Linked DNA regions of Homo sapiens: region 1 is linked to region 2. The links are contacts of gene promoters, found by promoter capture Hi-C in blood cells and fetal thymus (Javierre and others, 2016). All regions are on one chromosome and are shown on one strand. The core of a region is centred on a gene start or on the middle of the fragment in contact, and the rest is flanking DNA. Distances in the headings are between cores, read along the strand shown. Region 1 overlaps P2RX3 (purinergic receptor P2X 3). Region 2 holds the start of MED19 (mediator complex subunit 19).

Evidence for each region. The method cuts DNA at HindIII sites, captures the fragments that hold promoters and counts their contacts. A CHiCAGO score of 5 or more calls a contact.
Region 1: a contact is called between a fragment that was not itself captured here and the fragment with the promoter of MED19 in region 2, in 2 of 17 cell types (activated CD4 T cells and M1 macrophages). The highest score is 7.3, in activated CD4 T cells.

Annotation. Positions count from the first base shown.
Region 1 is chr11:57,349,105-57,354,238 of GRCh38, forward strand. P2RX3 (purinergic receptor P2X 3) reads left to right here. Exons shown (of 12, transcript NM_002559.5): 7 at 653-794; 8 at 1,658-1,794. Among named protein-coding and RNA genes, the nearest start is that of P2RX3, 13 kb to the left of the region's middle. RefSeq lists an enhancer at 725-1,224. The HindIII fragment of the contact is 187 bases long and covers 3,472-3,658 here.
Region 2 is chr11:57,708,129-57,713,481 of GRCh38, forward strand. It overlaps MED19 (mediator complex subunit 19), which reads right to left and starts at 4,087. Exons shown (of 5, transcript NM_001317078.4): 1 at 3,835-4,087. The coding sequence starts at 4,051. It overlaps TMX2 (thioredoxin related transmembrane protein 2), which reads left to right and starts at 4,465. Exons shown (of 8, transcript NM_015959.4): 1 at 4,465-4,679. The coding sequence starts at 4,491. TMX2-CTNND1 (TMX2-CTNND1 readthrough (NMD candidate)) reads left to right here and starts at 4,395. Exons shown (of 21, transcript NR_037646.1): 1 at 4,395-4,679. RefSeq lists a silencer at 3,718-4,057. The HindIII fragment of the contact is 3,048 bases long and covers 2,403-5,353 here.

The DNA.
Region 1 (5,134 bases), core at 2,315-4,814, 360 kb before region 2:
CTTACTCATTCCACAGCTACTCAGTGGGCATTGGCCATGTGCAGAGGGCAATGCCAGTCACTACAGAAGTGCACTAGGCCAGGCGCAGTGACAAATGCCTGTAATCCCTGCACTTTGGGAGGCCGAGAAGGGTGGATCACGAGGTCAGGAGTTTGCGACCAGCCTGGCCAACATGGTGAAACCCTGTCTGTACCAAAAAAAAAAAAAAAAAATTAGCCAGGCGCCGTGGCACACCCCTGTAATCCCAGCTACTTGGGAGACTGAGGCAGGAGAATCGCTTGAACCTGGGAGGCAGAGGTTGCAGTGAGCCGAGATCATGCCACCGCGCTCCAGCCTGGGCAACAGACCGAGACTCCGTCTCAAAAAAAAAAAAATGCACAGAGTAACCAAGAATGATTCCTGCCCTCTCGAACTCCCAGCCTGGCAGCTGGAGATTAGTCACCGACATACATCACCCTGATACACAGGGAAGGCGGTGATGGGGCACCAGAAAGATGCAGGGAAAGGAAAGAGGGGAGGGAGATGGCGAGGTCCAGATGAAGGCTGAGGGCTCAGATCCCCCCTAGGCCTGGGCTCCGGAAGGCGGGGAGAGATTGCACAAGACGATCTTCCCATGAACCCTGGGCTGACCTCTCTCTCTGCTCCTCCCCAGGGGAAACCTCCTTCCCAACCTGACAGCCAGGGACATGAAGACCTGCCGCTTCCACCCGGACAAGGACCCTTTCTGCCCCATCTTGCGGGTAGGGGACGTGGTCAAGTTTGCGGGGCAGGATTTTGCCAAACTGGCGCGCACGGTGAGGACCTAGCCATTCTTCCGCGACCCCAAACTCCCCACCTTCAGCCCTTTCCCAGATTTCAGGGCCCTTTGGCCGGCACTGGCCAGGAGCCGCCGCGAGACAGCGCCACCTGGTGGAAGCATCCCAGGCCGCCACTGGCTTTGTGCCTGAATCCTTTCTGCTTTCCCCGCGCAGAGCGATCTTGCCCCCCGCCTCCGCCGAGTCCACCTTCCTCAAGCCTCAGTTTCCCACTCCCATCTTCACACTTCACCTCAGGCAAAGGCCTTAGATCTGTAATAAGCCCCAAACGACGGGAAAGTAGACCTGTGGCCACTTTCTCCTGTGTTGTAGCTAAAGCACTGAAGATCCCAAAATTAGGACTCAGAGGCTCCAATGTTCGCATCCGAGCCACAACCTTTTTTTTTTTTTTTTTTTTTGAGACAGAGTCTCGATCTGTCTCCCAGGCTAGAGTGCATGGCGCGATTTCGGCTCACTGCAACCTCCGCCTCCCAGGTTCACGCCATTCTCCTGCCTCAGCTTCCGGAGTAGCTGGGACCAAGCCCGGCTAATTTTTGGTATTTTTAGTAGAGTCAGGGGTTCGCCGTGTTAGCCAGGATGGTCTCGATCTCCTGACCTCGTGATCCGCCCGCCTCGGCCTCCCAAAGTGCTGGGATTACAGGCGTGAATCACCGCACCCGGCCACCACAGCACTTCTTTACTGAGCAGTATATGACATGTCACTTTCCGTTCTCCCTGCCTCCGTCTCCCACCTGGAGGATGGGAGGAAATCATTTGTCACCACCTCCACCCCACCCCCACCCTGGCCCAGAGCAGGGAGTCAGAGGGCGAGGGGAAAGCTCATACCCGGCCCGTTTCTTCAGGGGGGAGTTCTGGGCATTAAGATCGGCTGGGTGTGCGACTTGGACAAGGCCTGGGACCAGTGCATCCCCAAATACTCCTTCACCCGGCTCGACAGCGTTTCTGAGAAAAGCAGCGTGTCCCCAGGCTACAACTTCAGGTAATTCCCTGTCTCCTGGGACACCAGGAGAAGAAGGTGCGGGCTGTTAACGGCAATGTTTATTGGGGAGACAAGATCCCACATCCATCCACCCACCCCTGGCCCCAAGTCCCACCTCAGGTTTCATTTCAAATCAGGAAGGACTCTCTAACAGCCATTAGGATCTAGCTGGTTGTCCTGGGAGACAGTGTCTCCTTATCACTGAAGGGGACCACGCCAAGGATTCCTGCTGCAGGTCAGTAGTTAGAAGAGAGGGCCAAGGTCTCTTGAAATGCTAGGGTTCTGCGATTCTTTGCCTGTTCCTAACACTGGCCTGAAACTGTGACGTGCTTAAGTGACTTCCAGATAGGCCCATTCCCTGCCCTGGGCCTGAATTTTCTAAGGTTTCTCGCTCTACAAAGTAAGGGTGATAACTGGTATCATTTTACATTTTACAAGATGGCAACTTTGCATTTCTCTCCGCAAACGTGTGTCACCAGTAGCAATTATAATTGTCTCTGGTTCTTCAATGCCTCTCCAAACAAGAACTCAGACCAGTCTTTAAATATCATCCCAATGGCTTTGAGACTTCAGGGATCTTTTCGGGTTTTGTTTTGTTTTGTTTTTCCATTTTGAAGAAAGGGAGAGAGGAATTAGAGGACAAACTGTTTGGAAGCAACTGAAAGCGCTTGAACAAGCCATTTGTCTTCTCCCATCCTAATTTCCCCACCTATGAAATTGTGATAGTACCACTGTGATCTTCAGGATTCAATTAACCAATGTGTGAAAAGCTTCAGCTTTCTGTTTTGTTTCTCTCTTCTTTTTTTTCTGAATCATTCATTTATTGATTCATCCATTAAACACATACCAATTGTCTACTACGTGCTGAGGACCGTACTCAGTTATCTTAGGTTAGCAGTTCTCAAAGTGTAGACTACAAGGTCAACACTACTTATTAAAGGTTTTGTTTTCTTTTTAATTGATAAATAACAATTGCATATATATGGGATACAATGTGATGTTTTGATACATGTATACATTGTGGATTTCCCCCAGTTTTTGAAGATCCTGAAGTTTCTGGCAGGGCCCTGTTTAAGTACACAGCATTATACACTAAACAGCTTAAATAGAACAAATAGGGAGTGACCAGGGGAAAAAAATACATAAGAATATATTTCATTTACATTTGAACATAAGAATGTATATTTGAATATATTCAAATAAATGTTACTCAAATTTCCTTTGTTGAGGTGGTATTCTCTGATACAATGGCATACGTAAGCCAAAAATAATCATTTCACCTTTTAAAATTGTTAATTTATAACTTAAAAAAATAATCACCCACCCCATTAAGCTTTATATTTAATAGTTTAAAATATACATGTATATTCTCTGGAAAGAAGAATCTTTAAAAATTGAAGTACTTTCATCATCAACTCCAAACTTTAAAAAAACCATAGGAAACAACACATATTTTAAAGTAGGTTAAAAATACTGTGCGGCTCACTGGCAGAAATTGGCATATTTATTCAGTTGGTATATCACACTGAGATCAATACAAAGGATATTTGTATGGTGGCTTAAAATAGTAACATATTAATAAAATTCTCATGATCTAAAATGCAAGTTTTCATCTTCATAACTTCCCTTTGGCCATTGGGAATTCTTTAATCCTCCAAATAACTCATTTGGCAGAAAAGCTTATGAAGAATGTGAATATTATAAAGACCCCCAACTACTGATATCGTACAGTTTTAGAACAGCATCTCTCATCTAAATAAGAATTGGTCTGGAGTTCTTTATCTCCAATTTATTGCACTGTGGCTGCCTTCCCTCCCTCCCCACCTGAGCACAGAAGGATGCGGGATAGACCTGGTCCTAAATAAGCTTGGAGGGTATTTGGGGAGGCAGGACGGAATATCCCCAAAGACCCTGCCTGCATAATTCCCAGAGGCCTAAGAGAAACCACCCCCTCTTAGGATCTCAGATAATTGACTCCCCCAACAAAGTCCCCCAGGCCAGAGAAGAAGGAGGCAAAGCTGCTTAGTTTGACCCTTGTGATTTAAAAGTTTCCAGAGGGCCCAAGTAATAGCCCTGACATTGGGGGACATCTGATATCAGTGGCAAGCAGAGGGCTCTGCCCAAGCCCCTTCCCATCCCTTCACCTGGGTGCCCACCCACCACCCTCATGCAACCTCAAACTACTGGCACCCAAGGCTAAGCTAAGAGCCCACGTGTGGGAGGCTGCAAAGCTGTCTTTCTGAATGCTTGAATAAGAGAGAAAGGGTCACAAAGCCAGGTTCAGTGCGGGTCACAGTGCACTTTCTATGATATGGTAAGATGTACGCTGTTTTTTAGAATCTCACCAAGCTACTTATCAGTAGAAACCATACTAGTCACCCTGTGTGCAAAACGTTTTGTGTGCTTCAGCTCAGCATTCCTTGCATGCCCTACGAAGTAGATGCTACAATATCCCCCCCAACTTTATAAAGGAGAAGATGGAGTCTCACTGTTAAATAACATTCTCAAAGTCACAAAGCAAGCAAGAGGGGGAGCCTGGATTCAAAACATATTTCTTTGGATGATCTCCACCCCAGCCAGGAAGACTAGGGACATTTGTACTTGTTAATCCTCAGAAAAAAAAGCATGCCTATGTGGTTGACACTTTCATCCCAGCTTAAAAACAAAGAATCTAAGTTCCAAGGAGATTTCAAGACTAGCAGATGCTGGCAGCACAATTCATAGCCCGGCCTTTTGTCTCCCAAACAATTCATTTGCTGCTCCCTCCAACAGAGGCAGATTTTTCAACACCCCTACTGTTGCCATTTGCTCTGGAGGGAATGGAATTATTCAGCCAAGATTCGGCCGTGTTTGAATCTGCTAACTAAGACATCCAGAGGCAGCTAGAGATTCACATTTCCATCACTAATTACATTCGCAGCTCCCTTCCAAATGTCACTCCCCCCCCCCCGCCCCTATTTTTTGTAGCTCTTTGCCTGCAGAATCAGAGATTTTGAGAATTTATAGCTGTTGAAGTTCCCCTTGCAGTCACCCAGAGTAAGGCGGTCACTTTACAGATGAGGAAGCGGAAGTTCCAAAGGGGGCATCTTAGAGTAGCCTCAAAGGTCATTGGATCTCAACTCCTAATGTGACCCTTGTGATTTAAAGGAGTTTACGGACCCATGTAAGAGATTACAGGCCCATGTAATCACCCTGACACTGGGGGATATCTGATCTCCGTGGCAAGCAAAGTGGCCTGCTCCATTCATTGGAAAGGTGACCTCAAATTGAGCCAAAATGTGCCTCCCTTTAAATCCTCTCCAGTGTACTTGGTGCTGTCCATGCAAGTTAATCTTTATTT
Region 2 (5,353 bases), core at 2,837-5,336:
CAACAAGATAAAAAAAAAAAAAATTGTTTTGAAATTCCAAATCTTGCCAACATCACTCAGGGCTTCTCTATTTCAATCCATGGCACCCACATGTTCCAGATATTTTTGGAAATCAGTACTCCTCAGTTCACAAATCTTAATGGTTTCTTTTTGCCCTCAGGAGAAAGCTCAAATTCCTTTGACTGGCACTCAAGGCTAATTACATCTTACTCCAACTTAGCTTTGGGGCCTCATCAACCACTACTCTCCTATGCAAAATTTCTGATCCATCCAAATGGATCTCCTTATCGCCTCAAAAAAACACCCCTCACATTATTTCATCTTAGGAAAATTCTTCCTAATTTTTCTTCACCAATATGGATTATTCAAGGTCTAGCTCAAGTGACATCTTATTCTCACTGTCATTCTGGATAGCAACACACTTTGAAAACCATTAGGTAGTTCTTAATATTGATGGCTAAGATATTGTTAATTGCTGTTGTGAGGCATGAGCACAAAATGAGATGGAGGTGACAGGAAATATAGTCACTATCCTTAAACCACAAATTTTACATTCCTAACTAAACTCCTTGAAAAGCAATGACCAGCATTACTAATCTCTCTCTCCATCTCACCCGCCTCATACACCCAGCATTTGCCCAGAACATATATTCAATATCTGTCAACTGACTGATACAAATAGCTACAATCAGAATAGGGAAGGCAAAAGAAAGATTAAAAGAAACCGCTGGTGGACATCAACCACTAACTAATCAAAGGGATGTCAACTTCTCCATGTTTCAGTTTTTTCAATTATAAAATGTAGACAGTAATGCTACCTCAAAGGGCTATTCTAAGTATTAAATACTACTTATATTAAATACTGCATGTAAGTGTGTTGTGAACTTCAAAGTACTATACCAATATTTGTTGCTATTTCCCTCAAGTCATGATGTGGAAATAAGACTTGAGACAATGAAAGGCATCTGGGAGGCTGGGCGCAGTGGCTCACGCCTGTAATCCTGGCACTCTGGGAGGCCAAGGTGGGCGGATCACCTGAGGTTGGGAGTTTGAGATCTGCCTGACCAACAGGGAGAAACCCTGTCTCCACTAAAAATAAAAAATTAGCTGGGTGTGGTGGCACATGCCTGTAATCCGAACTACTCGGGAGGCTGAGGCAGGAGAATCGCTTGAACCTGGGAGGCGGAGGTTGTGGTGAGCTGAGATTGTGCCATTGCACTCCAGCCTGGGCAACAAGAGCAAAACTCTGTTTAAAAAAAAAAAAAAAAGAGGCATCTTGGAGACCAAACATGTCCAAAATAACTCTTGATTTCCACCTCTTCAAACTTGTTCCTTCCTCATCTTCCAAGTCTCCGTACCCATACACCCAATTATTCAAGCCGAAAACTTAAAAAGGCATCAATTCCTCTATTTCCTTCACTTCTATATACAATATATATTTTTAATTGAGACAGGGTCTTCCTCTATCATCCAAGCTGGAGTGCAGTGGCACAATCATGGCTCACTGCAGCCTCAACTTCCTGGGCTCAAGTGATTTCTACCACCTCATCTTCCTAGGTAGCTGAGACTACAGGTGCATGCTGCTATCCCTAGCTAATTTATTTTTATTTTTTGTAGAGATGGGGTCTCATTATGTTGCCCAGGCTGGTCTCAAACTTTTGGGCTCAAGCAATCCTCCCACCTCAGCCTCCCAAAGTGCTGGGATTACTGGCGTGAGCCACAGCGCCTGGCCCTGTATTCAATTTTTCAACCCTGTCAGCTCTACCTCTAACATCCTGTATCCATTTACTTCTCTATGCCCTGCTATGCTCTGGTTCAAACCATTATCTTTCCTGGACTACTGAGCAGTAACTTCTGACTAATTTCCCCACTTTCTATTTGTCATGTGGCTGCTTAAATGATTATAAACAAGTGCATTTGACCAACTTCCTATGTTAAAATGGCTTTCCTTGGCTGGGCACAGTGGCTCAGACCTATAATCCTAGCACTTTGGGAGGCCAAGGCGGGAGGACTGCTGTTGGCCAGGAGTTCAAGACCAGCTTGCGCAACACAGTAAGACCCAGTCTCTACAAAAAAATTTTAAGTTAGCCAACTGTGGTGGTGCATGCCTGTAGTCCTAGCTACTTGGAAGGCTGAGGTGGGACGACAGCATGAGCCTAGGAACTGGAGGTTACAGTGAGCTATGATTATACCACTGCAGTCCAGCCTGGGTGACACAGTGAGACCTTGTGTCTATAAAAAAATTTTTTAAATGGCTTCCTTTTGTATTTACAATCTAAATGCCTTTACTGCTTTATAAAAGCCTCTGCCTAACTCTCCCAGCTTCATCTCTCTCCCTAACACTCTTTCCTTTTGTTCACTTCACTGGAGTCCAACTGATTTTCTGTCCCTCAGATATTCTAAGCTTTTTCTCACATCAGGGTTTCTGACCTCATTTCTTGTATCTACAATTGTCTCTCCCTCCTGTCCATACATGGCTGGCCCTTTGTCTATGCTTACATTTTAGTTCAAATGTTAGCTATGTGAAGAGAGCATCTCTGGCCACTCTAGCTAAAGTAGTTCTGCCCCTCAATTTTTTTTTTTTAAGAGACAGGGTCTCATCTGTTGCCCAGGCTGGAGTGCAGTGGCACAATCTTGGTTCACTGCAGCCTCGACCTCCTGTGTTCAAGCGATTCTCCTCCCTTAGCCTCCTGAGTAGCTGGGGCTACAGGCATGCATTACCACGCCCGGTTAATCTTGTATATTTTGTAGAGACTGGGTCTCGCCATGTTGCCCATGCTGGTCTCAAACTCCTGGGCTCAAGGGATTCTGCCTCGGCCTCCCAAAGCGCTGGGATTACAGGCGTGAGCAACGCGCCTGGCCACCTTCAATTTTTATCATGTTTTCTTTTCCTAGCATTAACCACTTTCTGACATTATCTTGTTTACAATGCCTCCTCCACTGAAATGTACATCCCAAAAAAGGCAAGCATCTTGTCAGTCTTGTTCACAACTGTCTCCAGCATTTAGAAAAGTGCTTGGTACATAGGTACTCAACAAAATAATTTTTTGAATGAAGAGTTTGGTTCGATTCTTATCCCTTTTTTGATCAGACCAGGAAATGCCGGAACCTTAGAAGGAAGAATGGCAACTTGCCCCAAACCAATAGCAAGTCTGTGGGAGACCTGTAACTAAAACTTTGGGTCCCCAAAGATATTAAATCAGGCCTCTCGAGTTCCAAACTCAAACCCTGGATTTTGTTTGTTTTGAGACGGAGTCTCGTTCGCCCAGGCTGGAGTGCAGTGGAGCAATGTCGGCTCTCTGCAACCTCCGCCTCCCGGGGTTCAAACGATTCTCCCGCCTCAGCCTCCCGAGTAGCTGGAATTAAAGGTATACGCCACCACGCCCAGGTAATTTTTGTGTTTTTTGTGGAGACAGGGTTTCATCATGTTGGCCAGGCCGGTCTCGAACTCCTGACCTTAGGTGATTCGCCCGCCTCCGCCTCCCAGAGTGTTGGGATTACAGGCGTGAGCCACCGCGCCCAGCCCTAGGTCATTTTTTAGAGAGACATAAACCAGTGTCAGGGACACAGCCTGGACATGGTGCAAAAGACAGTAACGGAGATGCACTACGCCCCTGCCCGCCATTCATCCCTTTGGTTGAATTCAACTCATCCTGGTTGAATTCAAGTCATCCCTCTGCTTGTGAATCCTAACAGCGCTTCCGACTTAGGGCTCCACAGTCCGGGTATGCGTTGCCTAGGTTACCTCGCACCTCCGCTAGCCGGCTGAGAGCCACGCCCATCACCTCCTCTCTAAGATTTGATTGGCTGGCTTTGGCAAGGCCGAGTACTCACCTGGCAGTTCCCTCATGAGGTAAAAAGGGCCACAGCCAGCTCCTGACTTGTCCGCGCCAGGAGGAGCCGTGGCCGCGGTGGGAGGCGGGGCCGTGCCGGGTCCCCCGCCCGCAGGAGGCGGTGGCGGGGGTGGAGGCTTTCCTGGTCCGAAGCCGAGTGCGGTTGGGGGCGGTGGTGGGTCAGCCTGAGCCCCAAACAGTGCCGTGAAATTCTCCATCGTACCCTCCGCCCCGGCGCTGTCTCCGTGTCTGCCGTTGGTAATTTTCATTGGACAATGCTTTCAAGGAGTACCCCCCCGCCCTTTCTCAAGGAGCCGCTTGTCATTGGATGCCTCAGGCACCGCCTACCTTTTTTCAACAACTACTTCCGTCGCCTTATGAGAACGTTCAGGAAGTGCTATTTAACCTTATTAGAGTCTTCTGCTAGCTCTGCTTGCTACAGTCCAATAAAATGACTTAGGCGGATAAAGCGACAACTAGACTAACCAATAAAATATTAAGTTCTTTTTTGGGTTCTGACCTACCACAGCGTTCAGAGAACTACATCCGGGTTTAGAGGCCGTACGTTTGCGATATAGCCCAATAGCAGTCGTTATGGTGGGGGAGGCGGGGCGAGACCTACGACGCCGGCGAGCAGTGGCCGTTACGGCCGAAAAGATGGCGGTCTTGGCACCTCTAATTGCTCTCGTGTATTCGGTGCCGCGACTTTCACGATGGCTCGCCCAACCTTACTACCTTCTGTCGGCCCTGCTCTCTGCTGCCTTCCTACTCGTGAGGAAACTGCCGCCGCTCTGCCACGGTCTGCCCACCCAACGCGAAGACGGTAACCCGTGTGACTTTGACTGGGTGAGCCTCCCGCGTGTTAGTACCCCGCGACCTTGACTGTCCCTGCCCTTGCAGGTGTATCTGGGAACCCTGGGGTTTACCTCTCTGAGGACACCTGAGGTTCCGAGCCTGTAGCGGACTTAGAGACTATTAAGTGCAGGGTCCGAACCATCATCGAGTCTAAACTTTGTGTTTAAGATGGGAAAACGGAACATGTTAGTCGTAGCCCATGCACAACGGCCCAACAGCTTTTGACTGTTGAGTCCAGGTTTCTTTCTGTTTCACCATTGAGACTAATTAACAGCCCTATCAAAACTGTACATACACGTGTATAACGTTTTACAGTGCCGCTCATTATGTAAAGCCTCCTGAGGAGCCAGTAAGGTAGACAAGGCAAGTAGTAATATTCCTGTTTCATTGGTGAAGAAATGGATCTCGGTATATTTAGGTGACTTGCCCCAGGTCATACAACTAATGAGTGCCTGGGACTTGAAACTACTCTTCTGGCCACACTACCTGCACAACACTGTCAGCCGCTTCTTAATTCAATAAACATTTCTAGAGTGTACACTCTAGGCACTCTGCTTGATCCTGAAGATGCGAAAGTGGATAAAATTTGGGGGCTACTGTAAAGGAATTGTAAAAAATACGTTGTAAAGAAATCTTTGGGATTTCTTTGGGAAGTGTCCCAAGCT